Regions from separate parts of the Homo sapiens genome. Here regions 2, 3, 4, 5, 6 and 7 are each linked to region 1. The links are contacts of gene promoters, found by promoter capture Hi-C in blood cells and fetal thymus (Javierre and others, 2016). All regions are on one chromosome and are shown on one strand. The core of a region is centred on a gene start or on the middle of the fragment in contact, and the rest is flanking DNA. Distances in the headings are between cores, read along the strand shown.

Evidence for each region. Contacts are between HindIII fragments. The CHiCAGO score rates a contact against its expected background, and 5 or more counts as called.
Region 2: a contact is called between a fragment that was not itself captured here and the fragment with the promoter of NXT1 in region 1, in 2 of 17 cell types (M1 macrophages and M0 macrophages). The highest score is 7.2, in M1 macrophages.
Region 3: a contact is called between a fragment that was not itself captured here and the fragment with the promoter of NXT1 in region 1, in 1 of 17 cell types (naive B cells). The highest score is 6.0, in naive B cells.
Region 4: a fragment that was not itself captured here is called in contact with the fragment with the promoter of NXT1 in region 1 in 2 of 17 cell types (monocytes and megakaryocytes); the score reaches 8.7 in monocytes.
Region 5: a fragment that was not itself captured here is called in contact with the fragment with the promoter of NXT1 in region 1 in 10 of 17 cell types (M0 macrophages, M1 macrophages, endothelial precursors and 7 more); the score reaches 26.0 in M0 macrophages.
Region 6: a contact is called between a fragment that was not itself captured here and the fragment with the promoter of NXT1 in region 1, in 1 of 17 cell types (endothelial precursors). The highest score is 5.3, in endothelial precursors.
Region 7: a contact is called between a fragment that was not itself captured here and the fragment with the promoter of NXT1 in region 1, in 2 of 17 cell types (M2 macrophages and M1 macrophages). The highest score is 5.9, in M2 macrophages.

The regions. Positions count from the first base shown.
Region 1 is chr20:23,349,389-23,352,160 of GRCh38, forward strand. It overlaps NXT1 (nuclear transport factor 2 like export factor 1), which reads left to right and starts at 1,403. Exons shown (of 2, transcript NM_013248.3): 1 at 1,403-1,673. It overlaps NXT1-AS1 (NXT1 antisense RNA 1), which reads right to left and starts at 2,079. Exons shown (of 3, transcript XR_937384.2): 1 at 1,942-2,079. RefSeq lists enhancers at 404-1,276, 985-1,124, 1,044-1,338, 1,277-2,148, 2,205-2,254 and silencers at 695-824, 1,445-1,714. The HindIII fragment of the contact is 12,471 bases long and covers 1-2,772 here.
Region 2 is chr20:22,351,404-22,354,175 of GRCh38, forward strand. No RefSeq gene overlaps it. Among named protein-coding and RNA genes, the nearest start is that of LINC01427, 70 kb to the left of the region's middle. The HindIII fragment of the contact is 3,691 bases long and covers 1-2,772 here.
Region 3 is chr20:22,399,184-22,401,955 of GRCh38, forward strand. It overlaps LOC284788 (a long non-coding RNA gene), which reads right to left. Exons shown (of 3, transcript NR_027090.1): 2 at 2,143-2,279; 3 at 1,150-1,928. Among named protein-coding and RNA genes, the nearest start is that of LINC01427, 120 kb to the left of the region's middle. RefSeq lists an enhancer at 2,692-2,772. The HindIII fragment of the contact is 1,768 bases long and covers 498-2,265 here.
Region 4 is chr20:22,676,883-22,679,654 of GRCh38, forward strand. All of the region lies in intron 2 of LINC01747 (long intergenic non-protein coding RNA 1747), which reads right to left. Among named protein-coding and RNA genes, the nearest start is that of LINC01747, 7.1 kb to the right of the region's middle. The HindIII fragment of the contact is 3,781 bases long and covers 1-2,772 here.
Region 5 is chr20:22,695,345-22,698,116 of GRCh38, forward strand. No RefSeq gene overlaps it. Among named protein-coding and RNA genes, the nearest start is that of LINC01747, 11 kb to the left of the region's middle. The HindIII fragment of the contact is 1,490 bases long and covers 620-2,109 here.
Region 6 is chr20:22,712,274-22,715,045 of GRCh38, forward strand. No RefSeq gene overlaps it. Among named protein-coding and RNA genes, the nearest start is that of LINC01747, 28 kb to the left of the region's middle. The HindIII fragment of the contact is 2,200 bases long and covers 284-2,483 here.
Region 7 is chr20:22,740,948-22,743,719 of GRCh38, forward strand. No RefSeq gene overlaps it. Among named protein-coding and RNA genes, the nearest start is that of LINC01747, 57 kb to the left of the region's middle. The HindIII fragment of the contact is 2,023 bases long and covers 341-2,363 here.

The DNA.
Region 1 (2,772 bases), core at 153-2,652:
TAAAGGGGCTTATTATACAGGAAACAAAAGCAGCACAGCATCCAAACTACTGAGCGTGCAGTAAATCAACGCATTCCCACTTCCATTCCATCCACGCTGATTTAGATCAATCCAAGTATCACTGCCTTGGGGTTCAAAAGGCCATGTTAGTTCACAAAGCCCCGAAAATGCTCTTTCACACTCTCTGCTCAGCCTCCAACGTGTCTTTTTAATAATCCAAACTTTCCACCTACTTAACTGAAGTGTGTGGGGGGAGAGGGTGCGGGGGGGAAGGGGTGGCCTATACTAAATAGCCCAACTGTTTTCCACTTGTCCTGAAATCTGAGACCAAGATTCTCTTAGGAATGCAAGCAAAGGGAGCCGACGGGACGCCAAGAAAGCACAGGTTAAACTACCTCACTTCATCTAGCCCCATTTCTCTCCTGGCTTTTCAATTAATTATTCAGCCTCAGACCAGCAGATGGAGCTGAAAATGTTGTCTAAAGAAATGAGGTTTTTCTTTTAATTTACAAGCTATAGTTTCTCATGCCTCCACACTGAATGGTTACATCCTGTTGAGCCTGTTCGTAAAGTTCAGTAAAAATCCAGTTCTCATTCCAGAACAGCTGAATCGTAGCTATGAACGCGGAAGAACAGAGTCCCAACCCCAGCCGGGCCCGGGTTTCCCGGGGCCCCTCAAGCCTCAGGGCAGTGGAGAGCCGCCGTCACGCCCCCGCCTCCCCCACGTCCCACCCTCGCCCCAGTCTCCTCCCACTTTTAGCTACTTTTCCCATCTGACTAAAACTGGCTTCCTCCGTGTCCACCAAGATGTCGCCTCTAAGTGGCCTAACTCCTAAAGAGCGCGATCGGCTCAAGCACTCCGCCACGCGGTTTCCACGGGGCGCGGCCGGCGTTGCCCTCGCCGTGGCCTCAAGCATTGCGGCGCCCCACATGTTGCCAGACGGAAGGCCTCGGCGGGGTCAGGCAGCTGCTGCTGGCCGTGACTACATCACTGGTGACGTTTCACGAGACTTTTAACTGAAATCACTCCAATACAGGCGCATGCGGGACGAGGGGAAAGCATCTCACCCGACCCCACACACCTTCCCCTCCCTCTCCAGCCTAGCGGCCTCCGCTCAGCGGAAAAAAAAGCAGACGCTACTCCCCGCTCTAGGTGCGGGACCTAAGAGGTTTGGCCCAATCAGGCATCCCACCTAACCAGACGGGCCGGAGTCTGTGGCCCGGTTGGACCAACGAAAACTCTAGGGCGGATTTGCCGGGATTTCTGGGAAAGTGACACTCCCGGAAGCTACCGCCTCTTATAAGCCACACATGGGCGGAGTTAGCCTTCCGGCCCGCAGTCCCACTGGCTGACTTCGCTGCCCGTCACGGGAATGCGGGAGAGGGCGGCGCCGGGGCGCTCGCGTCTGCGTGGAGACCGGCTGGCCGCGCGCGGGAAGCCGCGGAACTGCGCCGGAAAGTCCCCCGGCTCTGGGGCCCCGGTGACCCAGAGTAAGCCTCCAAGAAGGAGGAGGAGGAGAGAAAGGCGGCTCTTCCCGTGCCCCTACCAGAGGCTTCGGTGGGCCCACCTTGTGACCTCCGCGGCCGGCCCCTCAGTGGAACTGCGTCCCACGCGGGGGGCGTCCCGACCGTGGGGGCCGCGGCCCGCGCTGACCCTGGACGTCGCCGCGCAGGTACGTTGCCGTCCCCCGGCGGTCTGACCCCCGAGACAGCCCCTAGTGCATACCCCACGCCCTCCTCCATTGTCGAGAATGAGACACGGCTGTGCCTTTGTCCACGTGGTAGAGTTGCCGCCGCGGTGAGGCTCTCGCCTGTGCAAAAAGCGTGGCAGCGAATTCTCATCAACGAGGGGAGGCGCGTCCCCTCACAGCGCAGCTCTCGGGTCTGAGGAGGGCCGGGCAGGGCGTGCGTCTGTCTAGGTTTGAATTAAAGGCGACTCACAGGAAATAAGGCCATGCCACTGTGGTAGCTTTTCCCGTCCATCTCCGGACACTCGACGGTGTGGGTCGTGCGAGGAGGCGGCAGTCTTCACAGCCTCTTACTCTAGTCCTCACGGTCAGGTTCTTTTTCTGATTTGACACAGACAGCGGGACTGACGACCTCATAGGTAGCTGAAAACCGTAAGTGGAGATGGTCCTTCTATGGTGTGTGGGGGCGTGGCCAGTTGTTAGATTGTGTTTGGAAAGACAGCCAGGGGCGGAGAAGAGGGGCATTTCTGAGATGATGGGGGGACTGGTGCCATGGAGGGAGGAGGAGTGAGGTGGAGATCGGGAATTCCAGCCAAAGAGAAATGGGGTCCCTGGGAGAAAATTCCCACTCTAGCAGTCCTGGAGTTGTGCTCATGGAGACTTGCTTACGCGAGTACAAGGACAGCGTTGTATTGACAAAATTTCAGCCCTCAGTCTAGTCTTGTAAACGATAGATCAGGAGTGTACTTAACCGTCGTTACTTTGATCCAGCCCTAGGTTTCCCTTTTCTCATTTGTAAAATTGTTATAGTAATACCTTTTTCATCCATTTGTGGTAACATTTAAATGAGGTAATTTGTGTGAAGCCCTTAGCAAACACAGCGCTTCTTAGTCGTGGGTTCCGCGTGGGGTGGATTCAACCAACCTCAAATCAAAAATATTCTTCAGAAAAAGAAAAATGCGTTTGTACTGAACATGTAGAGGCTTTTTTTTTCTTGTCATTATTTCCTAAACTATACAGTATAACAACTATTTACATCCCATCTACATTGTATTAGGTATTATAAGTTACCTACAGATGATGA
Region 2 (2,772 bases), core at 87-2,586, 1.0 Mb before region 1:
TCAATTTGAAAGCAGCAATTTAAAACCCACTTGAATGCTTAGTTTAGCCTAAACAACGACTACAACATAAGAACAATTCTACAATCAAATTAGTAGTCAAATAACCAACGGCAAGTGGAAAATTGGTCATCGTGTTATTCTTCTATAACCTAATTCAAAATGCAACATTTAAAAATGTAAATCTCTCTTTTCAATGTTAAAGAAGCATCGATGAATATTTCTATGAGTAGGAAAATATTTATTAAAATAGTGGCCACATATTGGGACTGATCTTAGTCTTTTAACCGTCAACTCTTGGAAGAGACATCTGGGCCGGTTGGAGCCCAGGGGCAATGGAAAATAGAATGCGAAATACCAGCCATCTGTGATTGGCCCTTACAAAGAGGAGGAAACATAGTCCCAATGCCATCCACTTACAGACCTAGAGAAGAAAGTCATTGATCAAGTATTTCATTGGAGAAAAGTTGTCACAAATATGTTGATTAATGGAGACTAATTTATTTGATATGGAAGTTTGTTTTTCCCCCCTTTTTTGATGATGTTCGTCTTGATGAAGTTCTAGCTGTTCATTTTTAATGAGAAATGGTTAAAAGTTAAACTAACTTGTCTTACGTCTCCTCACATTTTTTTTCTGTCTACCTTCACTTCTTCAATTCTATGCAGTCTTAACTGAGCCAATTTGTACATATTTTCCATGGTGATATCAAATCCACAGAAGAATTAATAACTATGGAATTTTAGAAGCCTTGCAAAATAGAGCAAGTGAGCTGAGGGTGACCTCTGGAACTTCCATGTAAGGCTTAACTTGGGCTCATGGCCTGGAATGAACCAGCTCATAATGTGACACTTTTATAACCTAATAAACATGACTCCTAGGAACAAGTTCCAATCACATCAAACAAAAAGCTGTATATGGGGTTTCGGAAGTCCTACTTTCTGATCCCACAACTATCATATCTAAATTTTTAAACTGGACGAGTCACTCGATCTCCATGAGGCAAATCTCCCTTCCCTGTTACATGAGAGTTTAACTCACAGCACCTAGGTCACCTCTAGCACAAAAATATTATGATCCTAAACCTTATTCCTAATTGAGATCTGGATGGAGGGTGTTCCAAATCCACCAAATTCAGGAAATTATGTGAATTTCTTTGTAAAACAGTGAAGTCTGCCTGATTAACTATGATTCTCATTCATTTCCACCATTACCTACTTTGATAGCTAAATTTGTTTGTACCTTGAGAAGTCTTTTTCCACCTAAAGTTCTTTCTCTTGGAGGGCTAGAGAGAAAGTGAGGTCCAGTTCTCTGGGAGTTAAATTCCGTTTACGAAACAGCAATCTCTCTAGGAGTCATACTTCTCAGGACTATTCCATTTTCTCAAAGCACGTATGCACAATTTGAAAATGTCTGAAGTCACAGTTTCGATGGTTGTTTCCACAAGGAGAGCTATGGCCTATGAAATAAATGTCTGAGTCAGATTGGAAGAGAAAATGGAGAATGATGATTGACAAATATACTGATTTTGGAATAACACTTATTCTCTGCCTTCATGTCCAGGTCAATATTAGAATAATAATAATACTTTTCTTCATAATTTTGGAGGTATTAAATGTGCAATGTACGTGAAGACTTAAAAAAGTAAGGTGACAAGAATTCCTAGTTGTTATAATGTAGTCATCCCTCAGCTCAGGTCCTGGGCTACAGTTTTTGCTTAGACACTTTTGGTGACTATAGGAAGCTGCAAGTTCTTTGTGGTATATTTGCAGAATATATTTACAACTTTTGAAACTGGAATTACTTCATGATATCCATCAGTAGACAACCTTGTGAAGTAGATAAGACAGCTATTATAATTTCTGTTTAACAAGTCAAATTTCTATTTAACCAGTTAAATTTCCATTTCACAATGGAGATTCAAAGGGGTTAAGTGACTTGCCTAAAGTCACAGATCTGGTGGCAGTAGGACCAGAGGTAGATTCTAGAATTATGCTTCTCATTAAACCTCTTCTCTCTCATTTTTTGTATTTCTTCGCAAGGGCTTCAAACATCATTTCGTGAGTGTTTGAAGATTGACCTAGGGTCTTCATGATTACTCATCAGAGGCCCCTGCTGATCTTTTTACTGAAGTTTATATAAGAGAGAAATTTTAAAATCATTTCTTATTTACTTTTAAATATATTAGCAGTGACCCTGTGCTATCCAGATGAGTATAGGTGGTTTTCATCTTCATCTTGGGTTGGTTGCTGAACATGCACGTGCCCAGATCTGGAGGCACACTGCAGCATGGCTGGTTAGCTTTCACAAGGCTTCAGCTCAAAGTTCATGCTCCAGCTAAGGGAGCCTTGGTTCTCTCAGTTGGCGCTAAAATTTTGCTTCCCAAATTTGAATGTGCAGATGAATCATCTGGAGATCTTGTAAATTATGACTCAGCATGTCTGGGATGAGGTCTGCAATTCTGTATTTCTAACAAGTCCCAGGTGACATGGATGTCATAGGTCTGAAGACCAAATTTTGAGTTTCATGTTAGATATGTCATTAATCATAGGGATATCACAATTAGTGTTTCTCTGATAAAATAAATGGTGTTCAATAAACATCTAGCATTGCTTGACTGGGGTACAAGAATCTGGCAGGGCTTAGAGCTGAATTCTCTTCCCAATAGACATGAGACCTCATATTCTAGGGAGCTCTGTGTTCAGCTACATAGTATAGAATTCCAGCACCACACAGAATATGTGGAAGGAAGCAGAGGTCTCCTTAGTGAGATATAC
Region 3 (2,772 bases), core at 132-2,631, 950 kb before region 1:
GAATTCCTCAATTGCTCTATTGCTTTGTTTTTTAATCTGCAAAATGGGGATAATATCATTACCCATCTTCTCCCTTTTAGGGTTCTGAGGATTAAATGAAGTAATGCTGGTAGTGATACACAGCACCCAGTCCATAGCAGGGGCTTGGTAAGGCTGGATACCTGCCCTGGCTAAGTGGGTTTTTCATATTTTCTTCCACCTTTCTCTATATTCTGTAATTATTGGCTCTTCCCAAGTCCTGCCCATATTCCTCTATATGTGGTCCTTGGAAATGAGGTATCTAGGCTTGAATGAGGCCTTCAGATGTGATCTTCAGGTCTCAGAATGGTAAACTTACTCCAACTTGCATCTGAGGCTTAATAGTATTCATGCAATCCAGAATCTTGCTAGGTGTTTGGAGAACCACACAATCCCTTCAACCTACAACAATGCTGCAAAGGGAGAAGCTTCCAGGTGCTTTCCCTGGACCTGAAGGTTTGCTGAATCATGGATCCTCAAGCTTGCGTTCGTGCGTTTGTGCTGGGATCCAGCACAGAACCTAACATTGGGTTCTGTTAAATATCTTATCACTTTTCTTCTAAAGAAACTTTGGAGACTCTTCATGACCTACAGAATAAAATCTAAACTTAGAAAACTTGTTGTCTGATTTCCCTGCTCTGCAGCAGGGATTCCCAGAGGTAAGTGGATGCCCCTTGCACTTCCAAGCCCACTGTTAATGACATGCATGGTTGTGCCACTTGTGGTCTGGCTAATTGCATATATTCGCCTCTCTCCTAGACTGTGAGCTCCACAAGAAATTTTGTTCTCCCTTGTGGGCCACGATGCCTAGTACAGCATAGATAACCAACAAATATTTACCAATTTTAAGTCAGGATTTGATCCTGACACCTGCTCCCTTCACCTGGGTGGAATCGGTTGGAGATGGCCCATGGCCTGCTTGGAGTTCACGTTCATGTTGCTTTCCATGGTTCCTCAGGGGCCTATGCAATTCTTTTTGAAAGCTCATTTTGGCTCCATAACACTCTAGATGTCAGGTTTTGCTTCCTTTTGTTTTTTTTCTCTAACAGCTTCATTGAGATTTGATTCATATACCATAACATTTACCTGTTTAAAGTGTACCACTCAGTGGTTTTAGTGTATTCACAGACTCATGCAACCATCACCATACCAATTTTAGAACATTTTAATCACCCCACAAAGAAACCCCATGGAGGGGGCAGGCATTCCCCATTCCTGCCCTCCACCCCCACCCCAAGCCCCTGGCAACCACTAGGTGCCTCCTCCAAGCAGTTCATATAAATAGACATACAGTACATGTGCTTTTGTGACTGGTTTCTTTCACTGAACATACTGTTGAGAATCAGCCATGGTGTGGTATACATCAGTTCTTTGCTCCTTTTGACTGCTGGGTAATATCCCCTTGTATGGATGGACACGCCACATGTTTTGATCCATTCGTCAGTGGATGAACACATGGGTTGTTTCTACTTTTTCTGGCTATCACTTTCAGTGCTGTCTGGATATAGTCCAATGAGGGTCACAGGAGAACAAGTAGAGGGTGATTTTTAAACGTGAGTAAATGATGCACACAGAGGTGCGTTTTAGGCCAGTGATGGTGCATAGTTTGCAGCATGCACACTGCCAGGCCCATACCCTCTTCTGGGTTCTCAAATCCCTTTTCTATGAAGATTATTTCTTCCCTTCTTAGTTAATTTCCTTAGATTCGATAGGCATCAATAGTGTGCTGTGGACGAATTCCGCCTTCTGAAAGCTCTGTAACTGGGACTCTATGAACAACTCGGGTGCAGAGAAGGATGAGCCTGTTGAGTGTGCAGGATCCTTTACTCAGCCTTGAGCCTCTCTATTCACTGGCATTTTACAGTCACTTCAGGCTGGAAGCCATGCTGTGTGCGGTACTCCCAGTTCACCTGTATGTGAACACAGGACACTGAGGAAAAGCATTTCAACAGCCTGACTTCCTCAGATACATACAACCTCTCCTCCCACCCCACACAAACTTGATTTTACTCTCCTTCCAGTGAGGGCAACATGTCAATCTCTTTTCAAACCCCACGTGGAAAGCCTGGCTACAGTTTTGGTAACAATGAGGTACTTTCTTCTCATTTATGTTAGCACTCTTACCTGCTTAGCCTCAAAAACCCCCAGTATAACCTTGCCTGAAGAAGTCGCTAAGGATGCTGGCATTATTTGTAAATCGATTGCAAATGGTACTCAGATATGAAGTTCTTCTGCGGTCTTCGTTAAAGCTTTGTATTATTCTATGTGAATATAAATAGATAATTATTTACTTAAAAAATATTTTGTGGGCTATAAAGGTAAATGCATAAACAGGTCCTACAAGAATATTCTTTATTTTTGTAATTAAAACTATTCATTTCTGCCAAATTTTCTTCACCTTTTATTTCATTCAGAATATTATTATTATTATTATTTGCTCTACTGTGGGCAAAGTTTCTAGAATAGCTCAAATTAAAAATATGTATATACTCCCTCACCCCCTTACTCTATTTATGCCATCAACTTTTCTCCATAAAAGAATCTCATTTTATGCTTTCATTTTCCACATTGAACTTTTGGGTACAAGAAAGTGGGGGTGAAATATGAGTTCAGATGCCTGCAATTGTCTTGGAATATTTTTCTGCACACTCAAAAGCCTCCATTATGAACAAAGTCTGATGTTCGTTCACCCAGTGATGAATGCTGACTTAGCCTGAGAAAAAACTAATTAAAAATGTTGTGGAAAATGCAAAC
Region 4 (2,772 bases), core at 136-2,635, 670 kb before region 1:
CATGTATACATAAAGCTGGTATAAAACTAGAAGTCAAAACTTGTCTGTCGGGCCAATGAGCAAATACTTTCTATATTTAGGCTGACAGTGAGGAAGTAAAACAACATTTGTTGAACCCCTTCTTTGTGTCAGACAATTTTCCAGTGATGCCATTTAATCCCTGCAAACCTATGAGTAGGATTTTACAGTATTTGCTTTCATCCTACAGTGGTTATATATTCTTAATAATAATCACGATAATCATTATCATGGGTTGAATTATGTGCTCCCCAAATTCCTATGTTGATGTCCTAGCCCCTAGTACTTCAGAATGCTACCTTATGTGGCAATGGGTTATTTGCAGATGTAGTTAGTTAAGATGAGGCCCTATCAGAGTAATAGTAGTCATGTAATGCCACTATGTCCTTATAAACAGGGGAGGCTGGGACGCAGACACACACACACAGGGAGAGAGCCATGTGAACATGAGGGCAGAGACTGGGTGATGTGTCTGCAAAGCCAGCAATGGAAAGGTTGCCTGCAAACCACCCGGAGCTGCAGAGAGGCGTGGAACAGTCTTCCTCACAGTCCTCGGAAGGAACCAGCCCTGCCCACACCTTGATCTCAGACTTCCAGCATCGGCACGGTCAGGGTCTGTTGTTTTCGCCCCCAGGGTGTGGTACTTTGTTGCAGCAGCCCCAGGAAGTGAATGCAATAATGATCGCAGAATGGCAGTGAGCGTTTACTGAGGCACCTGCTGTTCTAAGTGCATTAAAGGCACACGGTGCAGGTCATCCTCATGGAGAGCCTGGGCAGAGGCCCTCTCACCCAGTCTAGGGATGTGGAACTCAGGTCTGGGGTGAATTCACTTCCCCTCCAACGTGCAGCTCATTGGTGGTAGAGCTACGATTTGAACGTGGCTTCAGAAACTTATAGGAACGTAAATGTTCTTCAGAGGCTTGGAAGGTGATGAGCTTATCCAGTGAGATATGGGTTTAGAAGCATCCCCTGCTGCTGGTCCTGTGCTCCTCCCTGGCTGGGTTTCTCAGAAAGGGCTGACCCATGAAAACTGAGGGCTGCCCATGTGGAGCTGGGGTTTTGGTTCTGATCCATTAAGCCCAGGGCTTTACTGGGTCCCAACACTACCCACAATCCCCGTCCCCTTGATTTTAATGAAACTCTTAGGCCGATCCACCCCGAGGAGAGTGGGCCACCACAGACAGGCAGAGTCTGAGTAGGGCAGTCAGTGGAGACAGGTTTGTCTGCAGTGACGCTGTCAAGGCTCCTTTGGATTCTTCTGACTGCCGGCGTCGCCTCCCCAGGCATCACCGAGCCTTTTCTTGCTACACTCGGCTCTGTGACTCTGCTTCAGAGGATAGCCCTTAGGCTGCTGGAGCTGCTGACAATATAGGGACAAAGTGCAGATCATTGGTTTAGTGTCTGTTACTTTTGTTTAGCCACAGTCCCATGTCTAGACAATGTCCAGGACAGTGGATTTGTCAGAGAAGGAGAGAGGGTCCGGGCTGCCACCTCACTGCCCCTTGGTGTATTTATCAATGCTAAAATCGGGAGCATTTCCCTGTCCCTCTGGACAGGGAAAGGAAGGGAGACCACCAACCGACCAGCCTCTCCGGGCCTGATGGGAGGAAGGTGTAGGGAGCTGTGGTGCCAAGTGGCCGGCCCTGTTCTGTGTGGCCCGCATAAGAAGGAGCTGCAGTCCTATCACCTCTCCTAAACTTCTTCTTGCTCACCTCAACCTCCTTAAAGCCTCCAGGGGCTACCACTGTAAAATGGGTAAAGCCTGGGCTCCTTAGCTTTATCCTCAGGGAACTCCGTAATCTCCATGCCTTTTAATCCTTAGTTCCCACTGTTCTGTTTTCCATACCCTGTTTTCCCACTGTTTCCAGTTTCCACCCTACATAGCCCCTCCATCAGGCTTTTGCTTATTCAACAGCCTCTGGTATTGAAATTATCAGGAATAATGTATCAGTTAGCTATAGCTGCATAACAAAACATCCTCATATCAATTGCATAATCCAGCAGTCATTTGCTGTTGCTCATGTGCCTGTGTGTTCTCTGGGTTCAGCTGGTCAGGGCTGGGCTTTGCCAGGCAGTTTTGCTCCAGGCTGCCTTGGCCCAGGTAGTTTTGCTCTCAGTGCTAGTCTGTGGGTGGGCAAGGAGGGCTCGACTCCACCATGCTTGTTTTGAGCCAAGGCTGCAGCACAGTAGTGACCCAGGGGGACTTCTCCTCATGTCATTGGCAGAAAAATAAGAGGGAACGTGGAAACACACAAGGCTTCTTGATTCCTAGGCTCAAAACCGGAAAACAATCCCTTCTTCTAGAGGCTATTGGTGAAACAAAGTTGAATGCTCCAGCCCAAAGTAAAGGGGCAAGAAAATAGCTCACACCCACCTTACCTTGGAGAGGGTGTGGATGCAGGAGAGATGAAGATTTACGGCAAATAATGCCTCCTACCACAAGAGGTGACAATAGCAAATAGCACAGTAGTAGCAGAGACAATCACACGTGCTGTAAAGTACTTACCATGTGTTAGCCCCAAATTATAGGATTATCAGCAGTGTTGATTCTCACTGTTGCCCTGTAGGAGACCACCCGAGGCTTCTAATGGTTCCTAACATCCCCTAAGACCGCACAGTTTTTAATGACAGAATCTTGAACTGAGCTGAAGATTTGTCTTTGTGGATCTGAGCCCAGAATTTGGAAGCTGCAGTTTGACTCCAAAGTCCAATTCATGTCAAAATCTTACCTCTCCTTCAAAGTCTCCCTCAAAT
Region 5 (2,772 bases), core at 115-2,614, 650 kb before region 1:
ACTTATTTCCCCAAACGCAGGCCAGCGCTGTTCAATAGAACTTCGTGCCATGATAGAAAGATTCCATAACTGCTTGTGCAAAATGATAGCCACCTGCCTCGTGTGGCTACTGAGCACTTGAAATCTAGCTGCTGCAACTAAGGACGTATTTTTTTAAACTTTATTTAACAGCAGTTAAAGTTTAAAAATTAAAATGGAAATAGCCATGCACAGCTAATGACTGTTGTAATGGATGATGCTGTTCTAGATGATTAATGATCCTGGCTTGCTGTCATTCTCTCCAATATTGCATCTATCTTCATTCTTAATAGTTTCAGTGTGTGCACACATGATTCTTTGTAGAACCTGGCCTCTCAGTTATTGAACCCTGATTCTTCACCCATCCTATCCTCCACTCACTTTTATCATTGATTTGAGATGTCATTAGCAATAACTACAGCTCTGCTACTATCTTACTTTTAAGGACTTCCCTTTCTGACCATATTTCTAGTTTACTTTCTCTAGAATTCTAAGGCCAGCAATCCTGCAAGCCTACTAGGATATTCATCCCATTGATCCTACCACATTTCACCTTGTTGGTCCTGAATATTTTTATATTATTTTAATACAAAAAAATTAAAGCTTTGTTCTGGGATGTAGGTAAGGGGACAGAGGCTGGGTGCTGTGATGAGAGCCTGTAGTCCCAGCTGCTTGTAAGGCCGAGACAGGTGGATTGCTTAAGCCCAGGAGTTCAAATCCAGCCTAAGCAACAAAGTGAGACCCTGTCTTAAAAAAAAAAATAAGAAAACAATTTTTGATCTTTTAGGATCTTGCTTTTAAGTTTTGCTCAATAAGGCCAGAGTAGCCCGATTTTGCCCCTCTGTTGAGATAATAACCTTCTGAGTACTCTACTGATGCCTGTGTGTTAGGAGGCTTTGCAGAAGAGCAGTGGTAAAACACTCGCTGTTTTACCTGCATGAGTGCTGCAGGCTGTCCCCTCCTCTCCTTTCTGATGGTTCTTCTTCAGCCTTGCCCACTTGCCTCACACTCAAGTATGCTCTGCTGAAGACCTATAGAGGACTCTGGGCCCTCTGTGGCCGTCTGTGGATCTCTGCAGCCCTCTCCGGCCCTCTGCAGCTCCACGAGGCCCTCTGTGGCCCTCTGCAGTCCTCTGTAACCCTCTGTGACTCTCTGTGGCCCTCTGTGTCTCTCTGTGGCCCTCTAGCTCTCTGTGCCTCTTTCAGTCTTCTAGAGTTCTCTATCTATGCAGTGGACCTCTCTGGGATTCTACCGCTGTAGCCTCCCCAGATTCCCAGCTCCATCTTCTAAACTCAGGGAGATCACTGGGTCCTGTACATATGTGTACACACACACACACACACAGAGAGAGAGAGAGAGAGAGAGAGAACCAGTTATTTAGTTCTTTAAGATGGGAGGGTAGCTCTGATTCCTGTTACTCCATCTTTGTTGGAAGCAGAAATCCTCCTTTCTACTATTCCTCACCCCCACTTTCCCAGCTCCAATCTCGTGGTCAGTCACTATCAACACCACCTTGCTCCTCTCTCCTCCTAGCTTGGCAACCCACAACCCTGGTGAAATCAAATCTGCCTACTCCTTGCCTACTTTGGTGCAGCTGAACATGCCTGCAGGGAAGCACACACCACGGCCGCATGTCTGGCTTCAACTTCATGGCTGTGAAAACCTGAGGCCCTTCATGCTGCCTGGCAGTGCCGTTGCATGTCCCTCCTCTCTCATGTTCTCTAAATGGCCATGTCACACCTTCTCTTCTCTTCTCTTCTCTTCTCTTCTCTTCTCTTCTCTTCTCTTCTCTTCTCTTCTCTTCTCTTCTCTTCTCTTCTCAATTCCCCATATCTCTTACCCCATTCTCTCTCTCAGCTTCTACCTTTACTGGAAAAATTTAAGTAACCAGATAAGTTCCAAAGACAGTCACTGCCACCTTTACTCATCCACCTTTCTTTGCACCTTCACTTCTGCCTTCTTGCCTCTTTCGCAAAGTAACACCACCTTTCTCTCTAGTGCACGAGGTCTCAGCTTTGTTAGGGATTCTACCCTCTCTCTCCTACGTTGCCAGCTGTTGGCTTTGTATTGGATCATTCCCATCACTCAACAAGCTTATATAATTTCTCTCATCTGAAGATCACTCTCATGACCCTTCTTCCTCCAGCTTATGTACATTTCTTTGCTTTCCATTTGAGACAAAACTCTGAAAGATGTCACTTGCTGTCATTAATTCATTGCTTCCCACTTTCTTTTGATTCCACTCTCATCAGACTAGAATCCTTGAACTCAACTAACTGCTCTTGTCAAGATCACCTTGACCTCCATGTTGCTGAAGCCAAAGGTCCATTCTCAGTCCTCATCCGATTTGACCCTTCAGCAGCATTGGAAAAGATTTATTGAGTGCTTCCAACTCCTTGAAACATTTTCTGCATTTGGCTTCTAGGACACCACACACTGCTTTGTTTTCTCTGTCACCTTTGCCAGTTTCTCCTTTGTCCATGACCTTGTAATGTCAGCTCTTTGTCTTCTTTTTAAAGACACTCCCCTTTGATGACCCCATTTTGTCTCATAGCTTTAAATACCATTGGTATGCTATAACTTCCATGTTTATATTTTTAACCTAAATCTTTTCCTAAATTCCAGATTTATATACCCAACTGCCTACTCAACCTTTCCACTTGGATGCCTAAGCACATCTCAAGGTGATCATAGCTAACACAGAACTCTTGGGTTTTAGCCTGAGCCTGTTCCACTGCCACCTTTCCATGCCAG
Region 6 (2,772 bases), core at 134-2,633, 640 kb before region 1:
GTGTTCTTTAGATCTCTGACCCCCAGGGCCCATGCATGGTGTTTGGGGCAGGGTCTGGTGGAAATGTTTTAGGCAAGAAATGAAACCCACTAACCCTGACCCTCACTTCTTTGAATAATAAAGAGAAGTGACTTCTAGATAAGATGACTATATTTGCTATCTATGTTGTATAACAAATTACTCCAAAATTTAGGTGATTAATACAACAAATATTTATTATCTTTGTGGGCCAGGAATCCATTTGTGGCTTAGCTGGGTGTGTCTGATTCAAGGGCTCTCATGAAGCTTCAAATTGTGGGCCAGGGCTGCAGTGTCATCTGAAGGTCTGATGAGTTGGGAGTGGGTGAAGCTCACTCATGTGGCTGTTGGCAGGCTCGGCTCCTTGCCATGTAGGCTCCCTGTACAGGGCTGACTTACTACCTGCTGCCCTGGGGTGAGCAATCCAAGAAAGGGAGGAGAGGGGGCGGGGGGAGGGAGAGAGAGAGAGAGAGAGATCGATCAAGACAGAAGCCACAGTCATTTTTTAAAAAAAATTATCTTTAAGTTCCAGGGTACATGTGGAGGATGTGCAGGTTTGTTACATAGGTAAATGTGTATTATGGTGGTTTACTGCACCTATCAACCCATCACCTAGGTATTAAGCCTAGTATTCATTAGCCACTTTTCCTAATGCTCTCTCTCCCCCAACCCCACCCCACTACAGGCTCCAGTGTGTGTTGTTCCCCTCCCTGTGTCCATGGGTTCTTGTTGTTGAGCTCCCACTTATAAGTGAGAATATGTGGTGTATGGTTTACTGTTCCTGTATTAGCTTGCTGAGGATAATGGCTTCCAGCTCCATTCATGTCTCAGCAAAAGACATGATCTTGTTCCTTTTTATGGCTGCATAGTATTCCATGGTGTATATGTATTACATTTTCTGTATCCAGTCTATCATTGACTGAGTATTTGGGTTGATTCCAGTCTATCATTGACTTTATTCAGTCTATAATTGACTGGGCATTTGGGTTGATTCCATGTTTTATTATTGTGAATAGTGCTGCAATGAACATACGTGTGCATGTATCTTTGTAACAGAATGATTTATATTCCTTTGGGTATATATTCGGAAATAGAATTCTTGGAGCAATTGGTGTTTCTGGTTCTAGATCTTTGAGGAATCACCAGACCGTTTTTTCACAATGGTTGAACTAATTTACATGCCCACCAACAGTGTAAAATTGTTCCTATTTCTACACAACTTTGCTGCCATCTGTTGTTTCTTGACTTTTTAATAATTGCCATTCTGACTGGCATGAGATGGTATCTTACTGTGGCTTTGATTTGCATTTCTTTAATGAGCAATGATATTGAGTTTTTTTTTTTTTAATACGTTTGTTGGTTGCATGAATGTCTTCTTTTGAGAAGTGTCTGTTCATAACCTTTGCCCACTTTTTGATGGACTGGTCTGTTTTTTTCTTGTAAACTTGTTTAAGCTCCTTGTAGATTCTGAATATTAGACCTTTGTCAGATGGATAGATTGCAAAACTTTCTCCCACTCTGTAGATTGCCTGTTCACTCTGATGATAGTTTCTTTTGCTTGCAGAGGCTCTTTAGCTTGATTAGTTCCCATTTGTCAATTTTTGCTTTTGTTGCAATTGTGTTTGGCAATTTTGTCATGAAATCTTTGCCCATGCCTATGTTCTTAATGGTATTGCCTAAGTTTTCTTCTAGGGTTTTTACAGTTTTGGGTTTTACATTTAGGTTGTTATTTCATCTTGAGTTAATTTTTGTATAAGGTGTAATGAAAAGGTCCAGGTTCAATTTTCTGCATATGTTTAGCCAGTTTTCCCAGCACCATTTATTAAATAGGGAATTCTTTCTCCATTGCCTATTTTTGTCAGGTCTGTCAAAGATCAGATTGTTGTAAATGTGTAGTTTTATTTATGAGTTTTCTATTCTGCTCCATTGGTTTATGTGTCAGTTTTTGTACCAGTACAATGTTGTTTTGGTTACTGTAGCTTTGTAGTATAGTTTGAAATCTGGTAGTGTGATGCCTCCAGCTTTGTTCTTTTTGCTTAGGATTGTCTTGTCTATACAAGCTCTTCTTTGTTTCCACAGGAATTTTAAAATAGTTTCTTCTAATTCTGTGAAGAATGTTAATGGTAGTTTGATGGGAATAGCATTGAATTTATACATTTCCTTGGGGAGTATGGCCATTTTTATGATATTGATTCTTCCTATCCATGAGCATGGAATGTTTTTCTATTCTTTTATATTTTCTCTGATTTCTGTGAGCAATGGTTTGGTTCTCCTTGAAGAAGTCTTTCACTTCCCTTGTTAGCTGTATTCCTAGGCATTTTATTCTCTTGGTAGCAATTGTGAATGGGAGTTCATTCATGATTTGGCTGTCTGCTTGCGTGTTGTTGGTGTATAGGCATGCTTGTGACTTTTGCACATTGATTTTGTATCCTTAGAGTTTGCTGACATTGCTTATCAACTTAAGAAGCTTTTGGGCTGAGACAATGGGGTTTTCTAGATATTGGATCACGTCATTTGCAAACAAACACAATTTGGCTTCATCTCTTCCTATTTGAATACCCTTTATTTCTTTCTGTTGCCTGATTGGCCTACCCAGAACTTCCAATACTATGTTGAATAGGAGTGTTGAGAGAGGGCATCCTTGTCTTGTGCCAGTTTTCAAGAGGAATGAAAGCCACAGTCTTTTTACAACCTACACTAGAAAGTGATGCCCTATCACTTCTGCCATATTCTGTTCATTAGAAGGAAGTGACT
Region 7 (2,772 bases), core at 102-2,601, 610 kb before region 1:
CAAAGATATGCAGATGACAAACAAGGATATGAAAAGATACTGCACATCATACGTCATTAGGGAACTGTAAATAAGACAATAATGAGACATCACTATTCATTAGAATAAAAATCCAAAACACTGACACCACCAAATATGGCGAGGATGTTGAGCAACAGAAACTCTCATTCATTGCTGCTGAGAATGCAGAATGGTACAACTACTTTGCAAGATGGTTTGGTGATTACTTACAAAACTAAACATACTCAACATGGAATTCAGCAGTTGTGATCCTAGGTATTTGCCCAAATGAGTTGAAAACTTATGTCTACACTAAAACCTTCACACAGATGTTTATGGAAGCTTTATTCATAATGGCCAAAACTTTGAAGGAACCAAGATGTCCTTCAGCAAGTGAATGGATAAATAGATTGTGAAACATTCAGACAATGGAATAATATTTAGCACTTAAAAAATGAGCTATTGAGCTGTGAAAAGACATGAAGGAACCTTAAGTGTATATAGCTAAGTGAAAGAAGCCAATCTGAAAGGGCTACATAGTGAATGATTCCAACTACATGACATTCTGAAAAAGGTAAAACTATGTGGATAATGAAAAGATCAATGATTGCCAGGGGTTGAGGAGAGGGAGGGATGAATAGATGGAGCACAGATAATTTTTAGGGCAGTGAAAACTGATCTGTAGAATACTACAGTGTTGGATATATGTCTATTGAATACAAATCTATTGAATATACAGCACCAAGAGTGAACCCCAATGTAAACTATGGACTTTGGGTGATAATGATGTATCAGTGTAGGTTCCTGGATTGTAACAAATGTACTGCTTTGGTGGGGGATGTTGATAGTGGAAGAGACTGCGCAGATGTGGGAGTGAGGGGTGTATAGGAACTCTGTACTTGTCTATTCATTTTTCAGTGAATCTTAAACTTCTCTAAAAATAAAGTTTGTTAAAAAAATAATGTCTCAGCCCTCTCATTTTAAGTATAGGGCAACTGCTGGCTAATAACTCAGCCTCATACTGTACTGAGAAACTGAAAGCAACTCCTCAGTTGGTAATAGCCTCAAGGTACCACCCATATATCGGCTGGCATCTGGGCCAAGCCTTTTTTTCTTCTTCCGCTCCTGGGATAGTTTCATGGAAGCCAGCCCCTTCTGACATGGCCTGAACCACATCTATTCTCATAGCCTCAGGACCTCCCTCCTTTAGTTGTTCCCTTTCTCCTGAAACAATGCCCTCTTTTCTTTACTAGACCATTCCCATCAGCAGGTAAACATATTCTAGTATCTTCCATGCAGAAAAGATTTTTCCTGGTCTCATATTTCTCCCGAGCCAGCGCTGGTTCTTCACTCCCTATGTTATAGCTTCTCAAGGGTTCCATCTGTTCATACTCACCTCTCATTCTCTTGTCAGCTCACTCCATCACTCCATTAAGACTCTACATGGAGGCCGGGTGCAGTGGCTCACACCTGTAATCCTGGCACTTTGGGAGGCTGAGGCAGTTGGACCACCTAAGGCCAGGAGTTCAAGACCAGCCTGATCAACATGGTGAAACCATGTCTCTACTAAAAAAATACAAATAAAATAAAAAAAAAATTAGTCGGACAAAGCAGTGGCACTTGCCTGTAATCCCAGCTACTCAGGAGGCTGAGGCAGGAGAATTGGTTGAACCCGGGAGGCAGAGGTTGTGGTGAGCCAAGATCGCACCACTGCACTACAGCATGGGCAACAGAGCCAGATTCCATCTCGAAAAAAAAAAAAAAGACTCTTCATAGACACCAAGATCTTTGTGTTTCTAAATTCAACAGCCACTTTCTATTATTCCACATAATCTTAGCAACAGTTGAGCAACCACTCAGCAACTACTGCCCTCTTCCTGTAATACTTTCTTTCCTTGGTAGATCCCCTACCTCCTTGAGTACTTTTTCCTTATACTCTCCTCTACTCATCCTCCAAATGCTGAAGTGCTCTTTCCTGGGCACCCTTTCCTTCTTTATCTGCAAACTCTCTGAGTGACAATATTTAGGCCTCAGACTTCAAATCCTCTACATGAAAAGACTCCAAAATTTCCACCCGCTCCTCTCACCTAAACCCATAAACCCAAATCTTCATGGATGTCTATAGGGAACATGTCTGTAATGGCCCAAACAGAACTCCAGGTGTATTCCCCCAATCTACCTAGAATATTTATCATTTCATTTCTGCAAACAATATCCAAAATTGATTCATTTTTTGCTAAAGCCAAAAGTCTATGCAACCTCTCTGAATTCTCTTCTTCTTTCACACCAGTAAGTCTTCCTTTCCTTACATATATAGATATCCTGAATCCTTCACTTCTGTGAATTCTCACTACCTTAGTCCAAGCTTCTAGAACACTGGAAGAGTCTGTAGTCTCCTAAGGCATATACTGATTCAGTCATTGCTCTGTATGTTTTAATCCCACAGAGACACAAGGAGATTTTTTAAAAGCATGGATCACATTGCTTTCCTACTTCAGACTTTCCAACAACCATGTCCCATTGCTTAGAATGCAGTCCAAGCACTTATCTGGGTTCACTTACTCTACTTGGTCTCACCCTTGTCCTCCCTTCTGATCTTGTCTCCAAGTTGCAGCTTCAGCAGCCTACACCACCACAAGCCCGTGCTTGTTTCTAGGCTTAGCACTAGTTATTTCCTCACCAAGGAATGCCATTGAACTTGATCTTTGCAGAGTAGGCTTCTTCTTGTTGCTCAGATCTTAGATTAAATGTAAAGTCACCCAAGAGGAAATC